Regions from separate parts of the Homo sapiens genome. Here all the other regions are linked to region 1. The links are contacts of gene promoters, found by promoter capture Hi-C in blood cells and fetal thymus (Javierre and others, 2016). All regions are on one chromosome and are shown on one strand. Each heading gives the region's core, a stretch centred on a gene start or on the middle of the fragment in contact. The rest is flanking DNA. Distances are from core to core; before and after follow the strand shown.

Evidence for each region. Contacts are between HindIII fragments. The CHiCAGO score rates a contact against its expected background, and 5 or more counts as called.
Region 2: a contact is called between a fragment that was not itself captured here and the fragment with the promoter of PITRM1 in region 1, in 1 of 17 cell types (monocytes). The highest score is 5.1, in monocytes.
Region 3: a contact is called between a fragment that was not itself captured here and the fragment with the promoter of PITRM1 in region 1, in 1 of 17 cell types (monocytes). The highest score is 6.7, in monocytes.
Region 4: the fragment with the promoter of TASOR2 here is called in contact with the fragment with the promoter of PITRM1 in region 1 in 1 of 17 cell types (monocytes); the score reaches 6.8 in monocytes.

What each region holds. Positions count from the first base shown.
Region 1 is chr10:3,171,235-3,174,535 of GRCh38, forward strand. It overlaps PITRM1 (pitrilysin metallopeptidase 1), which reads right to left and starts at 1,548. Exons shown (of 27, transcript NM_014889.4): 1 at 1,483-1,548. The coding sequence starts at 1,538. RefSeq lists silencers at 1,073-1,912, 2,203-2,362 and an enhancer at 2,561-3,098. The HindIII fragment of the contact is 12,209 bases long and covers 1-3,301 here.
Region 2 is chr10:5,406,552-5,409,387 of GRCh38, forward strand. No RefSeq gene overlaps it. Among named protein-coding and RNA genes, the nearest start is that of TUBAL3, 3.1 kb to the left of the region's middle. The HindIII fragment of the contact is 5,363 bases long and covers 1-2,836 here.
Region 3 is chr10:5,445,911-5,448,830 of GRCh38, forward strand. All of the region lies in intron 3 of NET1 (neuroepithelial cell transforming 1), which reads left to right. Among named protein-coding and RNA genes, the nearest start is that of NET1, 35 kb to the left of the region's middle. RefSeq lists a silencer at 508-737. The HindIII fragment of the contact is 651 bases long and covers 1,089-1,739 here.
Region 4 is chr10:5,683,178-5,686,108 of GRCh38, forward strand. It overlaps TASOR2 (transcription activation suppressor family member 2), which reads left to right and starts at 1,661. Exons shown (of 22, transcript NM_001321783.2): 1 at 1,661-1,998. RefSeq lists enhancers at 1,215-1,454, 1,595-1,704, 2,325-2,504 and silencers at 1,755-2,014, 2,055-2,104. The HindIII fragment of the contact is 4,285 bases long and covers 1-2,931 here.

The DNA of each region.
Region 1 (3,301 bases), core at 298-2,797:
ATAACGTGAAACAAAAGATACACATGATACAGTATTATCCTAAACAGGTATTATTCAAATAGGTAACAAGACATTGTCAGAACGCATAAAAATGGTAAAATATTAAAAAAAAAAAAAGCAAGGACATTTCTGTATGTTATGACCGTGATAATCTAAGAGGGAGGGAGAGAGTTACGAGCAGTTAGGGGAATCTTCAACTTGGTCACAGGGACACTAATTTTCTTTTTTGAGACAGATCTCACTCTGTTGCCCAGGCTGGAGTGCAGCGGTGCAATCTCGACTCACTGCAACCTCCACCTCCCGGGTTCAAGCAATTCTGTCTCAGCCTCCTGAGTGGCTGGGACTACAAGTGCTCACTACTACGCCCAGCTAATTTTTGTATTTTTAGTAGAGACAGTTTCACCATGTCGGCCAGGCTGGTCTTGAACTCCTGACCTCAAGTGGTCTGCCCGCCTTGGCCTCCCAACATGCTGGGATTACAGGTGTGAGCCACCGCGCCCAACCTATTTCTAATAATTATTCTCACCTGAATGAGATGGCTCACACCTGTAACCCCGCAATGCGAGAGGCTGAGGAGGGGGATCAAACCAGCCTGGGAAACAGAGCAAGATCCCTGCTCTTAAAAAACACGTAATTATTATTCTCTCCAATTGTATTATATGTCGTATGGGATTTTCTACATTAATGTATCCCACCGAAATATTTATTTTAAAGATAATATGTACAGGAAGAAAAAACCTATTCAGTCACTGGCAATATTATGAAGATATGCTATAACCAACATTTGCTTACTGATTTAGCAAATTTCAGAATTATGGGACAGAAGCGTTTTAAGAAGTTACTTATCAAGGACATGATAGGAAACTCCTGAGCGGTAAGGCCAGGCCGAACTCATGCCACGGACGCCCCGTGCCTCCCGGCCTGGGCCGGCAGCGCTGAACTATTACCTTATATTAAACACGGGCTCGTGGATTACCATGAACACTAAACTGCTTCGTCATTTTTTTCCCCATAAATTGAGTCATTAAAAAAACAAAACAGTTCAATTCCGGGAGGCGTCAGTTCTCTGAACACAGCGAGACTTTAAGTATGGGCTGTGGGCGCCTCGGGTCTCTTAAGGACTCGGCCTCCCAACAAAAATGAACTAGGAGCAAAGCTGTCAGCGAGAACCGCAAATGCCGACCCCATTTACTACCCCCGTTAAAGCCCACGCTAATGGAGGGCCCCGCCGGGAGCGCCGCGGGCAGGCCCGGCCCCCAGCCCGGGGCATCGCCCCTGGGAGTAGGAAGGAGCTCCGAGGTCCTCCGGCCTCGGAGCCTCGGATGCGGGAGCTCCAGGAAGGGCTCGGGGTGCGGGACGCCCACAGCTTGGGGAGCTGCCAGCCCCGGGCGCAGGGACGAGGACCCCTACGCCTCCGGCCTGCCCTGGACCCTCCCCTCCCGGGTACCAGCGCGCCGAGCGCCTCCCGTCGCAGCGTCTCACCCGCCGCTCAGCCGCCTCAGCACACACAGGCCCTGCCGCCCGCCGCAGCGCCACATTGCGCATGACGAGCACCTGGCTGGCGAGGAACCCCCTCTTAACCCGACGCAGGGCGCGGGGCGGGGCTTGCCGTGACAGCTACCACTCCTATTGGTCAACGCGAACAGCGACGTCCTCTGCGATAGGCTGTAGGTGAAAAGGGTAGGCCTCCACTGCTCTGGGACGGGCGGGAGGGCGGTGCGGACGGAGATGGGCGGGAGGGGCGGGGCCGACGTGCCGAAGGAGGCGGGCAAGGCGAGGGGCGTGGTACGGGTAGAAAGGGGCGGGGCCGTCTTGCCGAAAGGGGCGGGGTTCGGCCAGCAGCAGGATGTGGACAGATGATAGGAGGGGGAAGTGGGCAGGCGAGAAGTGGGGCGTGGCGAGAGGCGTGTGTATGCAGATGAAGTGGGGCCTGGTGAAGGGCGGGGCTGCGCTGGTGAAAAGAGGGGCTCCTGGAATGGCGTGCTGTGTTGGGTGGGGCTGTGCAAGTGATGGGAGGGGCTTAGCGAGGGGTGGCTCTTTGCAGGTGAGGAGTGGAGACCAGTGGGAGAGGGGATTGCAAGTGAGCTGAGCCTTGGGGGCGGGGCTTGCAGGTGACAGGGTGGAGCCTAGTGGGCGGGGATGCAAGTGAGCTGGGCCTTGGGGATGGGGCTTGCAGGCGATGGGGTGGAGCCTGGTGGGGCGGGGCTGCAGGTGAGCTGGGCCTTGGGGGCGGGGCTTGCATGCGAGAGGTGGGTCCTTGTGGGGGCAGGGCTGGCAGAAGTGGGTGGGGCTTGGTGATGGACCGCGGTGTTCAGGTGAGGGTAGTGGCCTGGTTGGGGGCTGCCGGAAGCTGGGCCAGGTGAAACTTGGTAGCCCTCTCTGGCCTTGGTGTGGGCGTTGGTCCTGTTTGTAGGGCTGAGCTGAGCTCCAAAGGCGTTCTGCTGCCCCGCCAGGCCTGAACCTTGGGGTCTGGGGGCTTCTTGGATGAGATCTCAAGGCTGCATGGCAGGTCCCAGGGCCAGGGCCCCACGGTGTCACACGTATCACGGATGGCCGCCAGCGAAGCACAGCACAGCTCCGAGCTGCTGCATGGGAGCCTGTGGCCCCCGCTGCTGCCTCCGCTTTCCTCTTCGTTTCGTGTCTAGGAAGATGCACCTGAGCCCCCTGACATTGCCCAAGTGCCCAAGGGCCCTTCTGGGAACCCCCAGAGAGGCTGAAGGAGGCCCCCGTAGGAGTGGGTGGTTCTGCACTGTGGGCCAGAAGGGGCCCTGGGATTAGCCACGCTTGGAGAGGGTGGGGTAGCCCTTGGAGGAAGTCCGCACCAAGTCTGACCTTCCGGGTTTCTCAGAGCCTCTCTTCCTTCCTCCCTTCACCTTCTCCCTCTTTTTTTCCCCTTGTATCACGAATACAAACAGGCTCAAATCTCCCTCTGTCTCCTAATGGGCTCTGAAAAAAAAAATTAAAAATTAAATGGTAAGTAGATGGCTGCAGTCGGCTTGAACAAGCTAAAACTTTGGAAGCAATGTGGAAGGTAATACTGTGGGAAAAAGTCCCAACGTGTCTACCCTAAACTCTCCATAGGGCAGCCAGTTCTGGGCTGCAGGTAAACACGTACCTCCTTATTGAAGAGCCCAAAGGAACCAGAACACAGGCAATAATAGGAGCGACAGACACAAACACGCTCTGCGCATCACCCGTCTTCTAGGGAGAATTTGGGTGTGTGCACACAAAATATCCGATCTAGGTCTCAATCAATTTAGAAAGTTAATTTTGCCAAGGTTAAGGGCATGCCCATGACACA
Region 2 (2,836 bases), core at 332-2,831, 2.2 Mb after region 1:
TTTTCTCCTGAACTTATTATAAATTATACTTTCTCTCATTTTGATCTTCATAAAGTCAATCCTATCTGTCTCTGTCAATAACTCCCCAAATGTTTAGCATCCTGGTAGTTCCATATAATGAAAAGAAAAATTAAGCCAGTTCCATTTTATAAAATCAGAATGATATTTATTTTGTTGCTGTATCAAATTTTCTCCCACTGGTCCCAGATATTTTCAGTTTGAAACAAGATGAGGGAAAAATCAGATAATGTGAGTATCTCATTTCTAGTCCACTGATGTACTCAGTATCTTTCATTAACTTTTAAAAATTGTCAGTCTGACATGGAGCTATGATTAACTTAGATTTACGTAGGAATTAGAAAGAAACTAGAAAAATCTCTTTTGTAGTATAATTTAAGAAATGCATCTTATCTTTTAGTAATTCCTTATTTCTTTGAAAGACTAAGTCTTAAAGAAAAAAGTTTCCTCAAGTGATAATAATTGGAATTTCACGTCTGAAGAGGCCTTCTGGGGTGATAGTTTTTGTGTCAACTTGGCTAGGCTGTGGCACCCAGTTATCCAATCTAACACTAGTCTGGGTATTGCTGTGCAGGCATTGTGGAGGTGTGGTGAACATCTCCAGTAAACTTTGACTTTAAGTAAAGGACATCATCCTCAATAATGTGAGTGGGCCTCATCCAATCAGTTGAAAGACCATAAGAGTAAAATGGAGATTTCTCTGAGGAAGAAATTTCTCCTAAGGATGGCACCTTTAGTTTCAGCTTTAGCTGTTACTCAGGAGTTTCCAGCCTGCCAGTCTGCCAGCCTGCCCTACTGATTCCAGACTTTACAGCCCCACAATCACACTAACTTATTCCTTAAAATAAATCACACACACAATACTGACTCTGACATACTTGGTGGCCACCCTTAGGTTCTGAGGGTGAAAAAATGGCAGAGTGATAAAAGTGTGGTATTTATAGTTACGATGTCCTTGTTCAAAGTTCCTTTCTTGGCCAGGCACAGTGGCTCATGCCTGTAATCGCAGCACTTTGGGAGGCCAAGGTGGGCAGATCACCTGAGGTCAGGAGTTCAAGACCAGCCTGGCCAATGTGGTGAAACCCCATCTCTACTAAAAATACAAAAAATTAGCCGGGTGTGGTGGCAGGCACCTGTAATACCAGCTACTCTGGAGGCTGAAGCAGGAGAATCACTTGAACCCTGGAGGCGGAGGTTACAGTGAACCAAGGTCACGCCATTGCACTCCAGCCTGGGCAACAAGAGCAAAACTCCATCTCAAAAAAAAAAAAAAGTTCCTTTCTTAAGTATTTTTCATTGTGAGCCAGTCAATTCACTGGCCAAGTAATGAGACAAACAAAACCTTCTAAGCATGAAAATTTGTTACAAAAAAAAAAAATTATTCAACTCTGAGCAATAATTCTGATTGACATTCTGACATTTCTGAAGTTCTCTTTGGTAATTCTCTGTTGGCAGCCTCACAACCACAGCCAGATCACTGTCCTTTGCCATTCTCTCTGGCCCCTACCATTGCACTGAAACCCCTTTCTCCTTCCTCCTCTGTTCTCCTCTCCTACTACTAATATAAATCAGTCTTTTAGACCTGCAATGTCTTTAGGAAGATAGTCTAAGCGTTAAGAAAAATGAATTACAGTCTACTTTGGATTAATAGCACCTTCTCTGGCCACACATATTTCATCTCAAATTTTATTGTTCTCTAAGCTCAACAGCTAGATTTTGGAGTTTTCCATTTTCCTCATTGGAATACCTAAGAGTAAACCAATATGGTAAACAAATGATTCATAGATGATTGATTGATTGATTGACTGATTGAGGCAAAAAATGAAACAACCTCCCCCCACATCACACATACACACACAGTGATAGATTTTAAGGGATGACAAACCTGATTTCAAATATTCTGCCCTATTGTGCCTATAAGTACACTTCTGCTTGTCAGAATGACAATCAATGCAGTCCACATACTTAGCTGTTGGACTACACTCCCTTTCATTTGGCAGGAACAATTAAGTTTGACCCAATTAAAAATTACAGTCTAATAAACAGTTTTGTAAATTAATCAATAGTAGATATAGTAAATATATTTTTAAAAATTTCAGACTTTATTATAACATTCTATATATAAATTATATGTATATGCACACATACAGACATTCATTCTCCTGAATGTAATTGCTGTTAGTTCATGAGAAGCTATGAGAAGATTCAGACAAAAAAGAAAAACGTTGATGCAAAGGGCAATTCTCTAGTTATTAAGACTACTAGTTTTCTAATGGTAGGTCATTGTTTGCAAATTTGCTACATTTTTCTATGGGAGCCTACAGACCAAAGGGGAATCATTTAGCTAGTGATAGCAATGGCAAACAAAATATCACATCAAAATCATCAAATAATTTGGAAATTAATAAAGTGTTTTGATGAACACTTTGTACTCTAATATATACATATATATATATATATATATATAAAACTTGGTAAGCAGTTTTGCAAAAATAGTTTGATTTACTTAGATAATGAAAGAAAATAGGTTTTTAAATTATTGATTTACATAATAATTTACATTCATTTATTGATTGTTGAATTTATTTAATATCAACTTGCAAAATGATTGGTGTCATCACATAGGGCTGAAGGTTTTGGAAATAATCTTTGAGGAAGTTCCCCAAAAGAATATTTGTTTTGCAAATCCATGGTTGAAAAAGTTTGGGTTACACTTTGCTCTAGTCAAGTTAGTAGGAATATCTTCTCAGAGAGGGAGTTCTAGAGTCTGATTTTATATATATGAAAGCTGAAATCAAAACAATTTCCTCAAACCCTA
Region 3 (2,920 bases), core at 164-2,663, 2.3 Mb after region 1:
TGTATACAATATAGAGAACAGAAATCACCTTTGTTATAAAATATCTAGTACACAGATAATCAAGTTTTTAAAAAGATCCAGAAAAAATATCTACCTCTAAGAAATACTGAATTTTGAAATCTGAAGTAGCCCAGTTTACCCGTAACCTCATGGGAGATTTTCTTCTGGAAGAGAGGTAACAGAAGTGCACCTGCTGTATTTACCCTGCTAGTCTTAAGAAAAAGTGGGAACTATTTAAAGACTTAGATAATCTATTTTATAATTGTGAATATGCTTGCACTTCTGTAAAATAAAAGCAGGTTTCCTGGAAAATTAGGCTTTTCTTCATTATATATGTTGATTCAGCCCTATCGAATAAGAATTTCTATTTCCTTATTTGAGTTGTCAAGTTGTCCATACTGAACTTATTCCCATGCAATAGGGTTTTATGGGAAAAGTCTGCCTGTCTGTGACTAAGCACCAGAGTAGATAACGTAACAATTTGTTTTACTTCGGGAATGCATTTTAAATCAGGAAGAGAAGTTTCTGTCCTACTTGAACCCAGCTTCACTCTCCTCCTGGGCGAAAGCTGAGAGGCCTAGGTGTGCCCAGCTCTCAGTTAACTGAAGTCACGTGGTGGTGGACCCCGCCCCCAGGGCCCGGTTGGCTGTGGCCCCGCCCCCGAGCCCTGGGGTCGGTGCTTGCTGCCTGCGGCTCTCAGAAGCCTCTGCTCCACCGCGGCGAGAGGCATGGGCACGTGGCTGCCGAGGGTGGCCGAGCTCTGGGAAGAAAAGCCCGTGTGCCTCTGCATAGCGTCGCTACAGCGCTGACTCGGTGTGGATTGATTGGAAAGGTTTGAGGGAGTACTTGGGAAGCATGGTGGCACATGATGAGACTGGAGGTCTCCTACCTATTAAAAGGACCATACGAGTCCTAGATGTCAATAACCAGTCCTTCAGAGAACAAGAGGTAAGACTTTAAGAGAAACGTTAGGCAAAAGGAATGTTTTCTAACTCCACGGAGCTTTTAAAATTTTTAACAAGGTATTAACAGTATAATTTTAAACTTTTGATCTTATTATTACAATGTATGTTCTTGATTTATGTGCAAGCTTGAAATGTGTTTAGGGACTGTGGTCTAAGTTTAAATAGTTTATACATAGCATAGCTTGAGTGTACACAGCTTTTATAAAAAAGGAAAAGATTTTAAATGTATATGTTACTCGGGTTACGTTTGTCACATTTCTGATGCTTAATATAATTGTTTTTTTAACTTGAATTGATATCATCCAGTCTTAGAAACTACCTTAATGGAGCAAGAGGAAAAGAATCCCGTTCTTGTAAATCAATGCTAGTGAACAAATTGCAACTAAAGTTTAGTCTGACCTGGTGTGCATTTTTCTTCCATCTGATGAGTTCATTGTATGCCACTTTTTTCTTCAGAAGGAAAGAGGCATGTTAGAATATTTAAACCAGTGACTCATTATTTTTACCCTCCTTGCTTTGTCTGAGTCTTTTTTTAGTCTTTATGAACATTTATCAATATAAATCAAATTACTTTATGCCATTTTATGTAATCTTGATTTAACATTGTGTGATATTCTGTTTATACTATATACTTTAATATATACTACATTGTCACTTATATGCTAGGAATAGTGTTCCTGCATTCAGTTAACTGTGTATCTCTTGATTGTGGTAGTGGTTTCCGTCTCTATACACACGTCAAAACTTATCTAATTGTGCATTTTAAATATGTAAAGCTTACTGAATACCCCAGCAAAGTTGCTTGTCATGTGTACACATACACACACCTTTTGGTAGTTAAAATAGCTGCCGTCTTCAGGAAGTACACTTTTATTTGGTGTGGTTTGGCTTTGGTTTTTGTTCTTGGTTTTGGTCTTTGCCTATGTGTCGGTTTTCTCAAAATGTGTAAGTATTTCCTTTGAGTAGAGCAGTCATCCACAGTCACTAGTGTGAATCCTGCAGCTTATCATCTGTTGGGCCCATAGAAGCTGGCCTTTGTTTAGTATCAGCATGGGCTGTGTTTCTGCCTTACCTTTATTTCTAAGTTACAAGCACTAGGAATGTTGTCACGGTTTTAGATCTAGTGACACAGCTCTAAATAATTTGAGTATTTCTAGAAAAGGAATTCATCCCATGTGATCATAACTCGTTTTTATCTTTTTAAAAATAACTTTTATTTTCTTTTGATTTTAAAGTTTTGCTAAAGATTTTAAGAGAAGATTATTTAACTATTATAACCCAAAGGAATAGACCCAGGTGCATACTATTTTTTTTATTCAGTGTCTTGATATGATTGGTTATAGAAGAGACCCTCCTAAAATATGTTCTCTAACTGGCATCATTAGAAGAAAAAGCCTTTCTACAGAATGCTGACTTCTCAACAGGATTTTTCCATGTCGTTGCAGTTAGCTGTAAGGCATAACCTGAAAAATACTTTAACTTATTCTCAACAATTTTCTGTTTATAGATGTCGAGAAATTTTTAAGGCATAAAATCTAACTACAAGTGGATTACTAACATTAATTAATACCCTGATCTGTGGACAGATTGCCTATAATAATGTATGTGACTGCCTGGCTAACCTAGTCTGATTAAAAATTAACCTAAATTGACAACATAAACTTATGTTAGAGAGTGTTGGACTTTTTTTCCCTCCAAGTGAACTTTAGCCCTGGTGAAAGGTTCCCTGCAGCAGAAAATTCATTGAGCATGTAAAGCTTGTTGGCATTTTTTTGTTTATTCCCATGGATTTTTGGATTTTTTTTTTTTTTTTTGAGGAGAGTAAGGTTCCAGTATTCGTATCTGTTCTTTAAGCTTCTTGAATTTGCCATAACGTGTTTCCAGGACTCCAAAGTAAAAAATAAACAATCCTAGCAGTGGAACTATGGGTGCCTTCCATTTGGTGGTGGTGAGAT
Region 4 (2,931 bases), core at 411-2,910, 2.5 Mb after region 1:
GTGTCTATTACAGCACCTGGTTACAGTAAACAGTAAACACAATGACTGAATCTCTTGGTATTACCAGCACAGTGCTTGACTCATGATACATGTTCATTAGCACTTAATCTCTCTCATTGGTACAGTCATATGTCACTTAATGTTTCAGTTAACAACAGACCACATATCCAACAGTGATCTTATATGATTATAATAGAGCTGAAGAGTTCTATTGCCTAGTGATGTCGTAGCCATCTTAATTTCGTACAGCAACACATTACTCATATGTTTGTGGTGATGCTGGTGTAAATGAATCTACTGCACTGCCAGTCATATAAAAGTACAGCACACATGGCCAGGCGCAGTGGCTCCACCGTAATCCCAGCCCCCCAGTGGGACAAAATGGAGGTGAAGACAATGATGTTGATGATCCTGACCCTGTGTAGGCCCAGGTTAATGTGTGTTTGTGTCTTAGTTTTTAACAAAAAAGTTTAAAAAGTAAATTAAAAAAATTTTTAAATAGAAAAAAACTTACAGATTAAGGATATAAAGAAAATATTTGTGTACAATGTGTTTGTTTTAAGCTAAGTGTTATTACAAAAGAGTCTTAAAAAGTTTTTTAAAAGTTTTAAAAAGTTAAAAAGTTACAGTAAGCTAAGGTTAATTATGAAAAAATTTAAAAAAATAAATTCAGTGTAGCTTAGGTGTACAGTGTTTATAAAGTCTACAAGAGTGTACAGTAATGTCCCAGACCTTCACATTCTCATTGCTCACTCACAGACTCACCCAGAGCAACTCCCAGTACTGCAAGGTCCATTCGTGAGAATGCCTTACACAGGTGTACCATTATTTTTCATACTGTATTTTTATTGTACCTTTTCTATGTCTAGATATGCTTATACAAATACTTACCATTGTGTTATAATTGTCCACAGTATTCAGTACAATAACATATAGCATGGGTTTGTAGCCAGGAGTAATGGGCTATGGCTTATGGTGTAAGTATGTAGTAGGTTATGCTTCTAGGTTTCTGTGATGTTCACTCAAGGACCAAATTGCCTAATGAGGCATCTCTCTCATAAGGTGTCCCTACAGTTAAATGATGTTTGCATGACTATTTATCATGGGCAAGGGTAAACCTGAATTTATTGATGGTCACCTTAGCTCTCTGTGCATGTGTTATAAATTTCTAGAGATGCTTTCCTAGGGGGTAACAGCCACACCTACTATATGGATTAAAACAAGGGCAAAATTTCCAAAATGTCGCATTCGGGCCAGACAAATAAACTGTTCTTGCAGCAGCACCTGGGGAATGAAACGCTGAGAAGGGAGAAGGCGCCCGAAGGCGACCACGTGGGCCACAGCCACAGCACTGTAGGTCAGCCGAGAGAGCGTCTCCCGCCTCTTCCCAAGGGCATCTTCCGCCTCCTGTCAAGGGTCGGCAACGCGAGACACCACGCGCTCGTTGGGATCGGCCGCCTAATCAGGAGCGAGCTGTGGCCTTACGCCTGCGCAGAGGGGAGACGCGAGCGCCGCGTGGACGCTGACCTCGGTCCGCGCCTGCGCCTTGGTTTCTTCCCGGCGATTGGTTCCCATCTCTGAGGGAGACGCCTCACTTCAGTTTTCACTTTCTTTTTTTGCCCCCCCCTCCCCTTTTCTTTTCCTTTGGCCGCGAGGTTTTGCTTCCGGTTGCTAGCGCCGGTCAGAGAGAAAGTCGGCATGTTCTCGCAGGCTGCCGGGCGTCCCGGGGTTGCCTCTTGCCCGTGACCCTGACGGGAGACAGAGCGCGGGCGGCCGCGGCGTCCCTGTCAGCGCCCGCGGCGAGGACCCCGGGGCTGGGGCGGACGGCGTGCCCCTGAGGGGGGTCCCCGCGGGAGCGCGGAGCCGGCGACTGGTGCTTCCCACGTGCGCCGGTGTCGCGAGGGCCCGGGAGGACGCAGAGCACGGCCGGGAGAAGCATGGGAAGGAGGCCGAGCCGGGATCTCAGGTCCTCGGGGGCGGCGGCCACGCCAAGGACGGGTAAGTCCCTCCTCGGCCTGGGCGCCCGGGAACCCTGCGAGGAGGACGGCGGGTCCCCGAGGCCGAGCGCTCGGGCAGCTGCCGGGGCTTGGCTGCGAGGGTCGACGCGTTCTCCTTGCCTTTTGCCGCGCTCCGGGTGAGGGGGTGGGAGGGGTCGGCGCCTTCTAGATGACTCAACCTTCTGTCCTGCGCTACAACCTGTGGCCGCGCTCGGTGTCGCCGGCAGGGAGATCCTAACCGTGTCATCTTGCCCCTTTCTGAGGCGTTTCGTTTGCGTCGCCTGTCAGGGGACAGCTGCGTCCTCAGGGATATGCTGATAAGTTCTTGGCTGAAGTTTCCGTCTTCGGGTTTGCACCGGCTGGGAAATCATTTCCTGCGGGTTCTGCGTGAAGCCTGCTGCTACTCGAGACTTCATGGCAATGCGCCACCTTTTCTTTTTAGGGTAAAACAGGTCTCTCCGAAGGGAGGGTCATTTCAGCAGCAAGCGCAAGCCGCGTTGGGATAACTTGGTGCGAGCAACACAGAAGTTTGTCTGAAGGCGGCGCCAAGCAGCGTTTCGTGGGAGAACTGGGTTGATGACTGAAATTTTGAGGAAGATTACTTTGGGAATTCTCAAGTTTCTCTTAGTCGCTTCTTGTCTATTTGAAATCTGTAACTTTAAACAAACCACGCTTACTCTTCCTTATTCTCCCTGTAAGGTACAATTAGAATAGAAAAGTTTATGAAAGTGTATCCAAAACTTAAATATGTGGCGTACAAGTGTATGGTATTATTGGAATGGCATTCGCGATCCTAGAGTCTACAGTGTTCCCTGAATAAAACTAGGGGTGAGCCTGGCGGTAATCCTGCCTAGGAGGTTTATAGCAAAGCAGTGTCCCCTAACGGTGCAAGAATACCCTTCTGTCGAAAAACTGCCTTATAGGAATGGGTGAC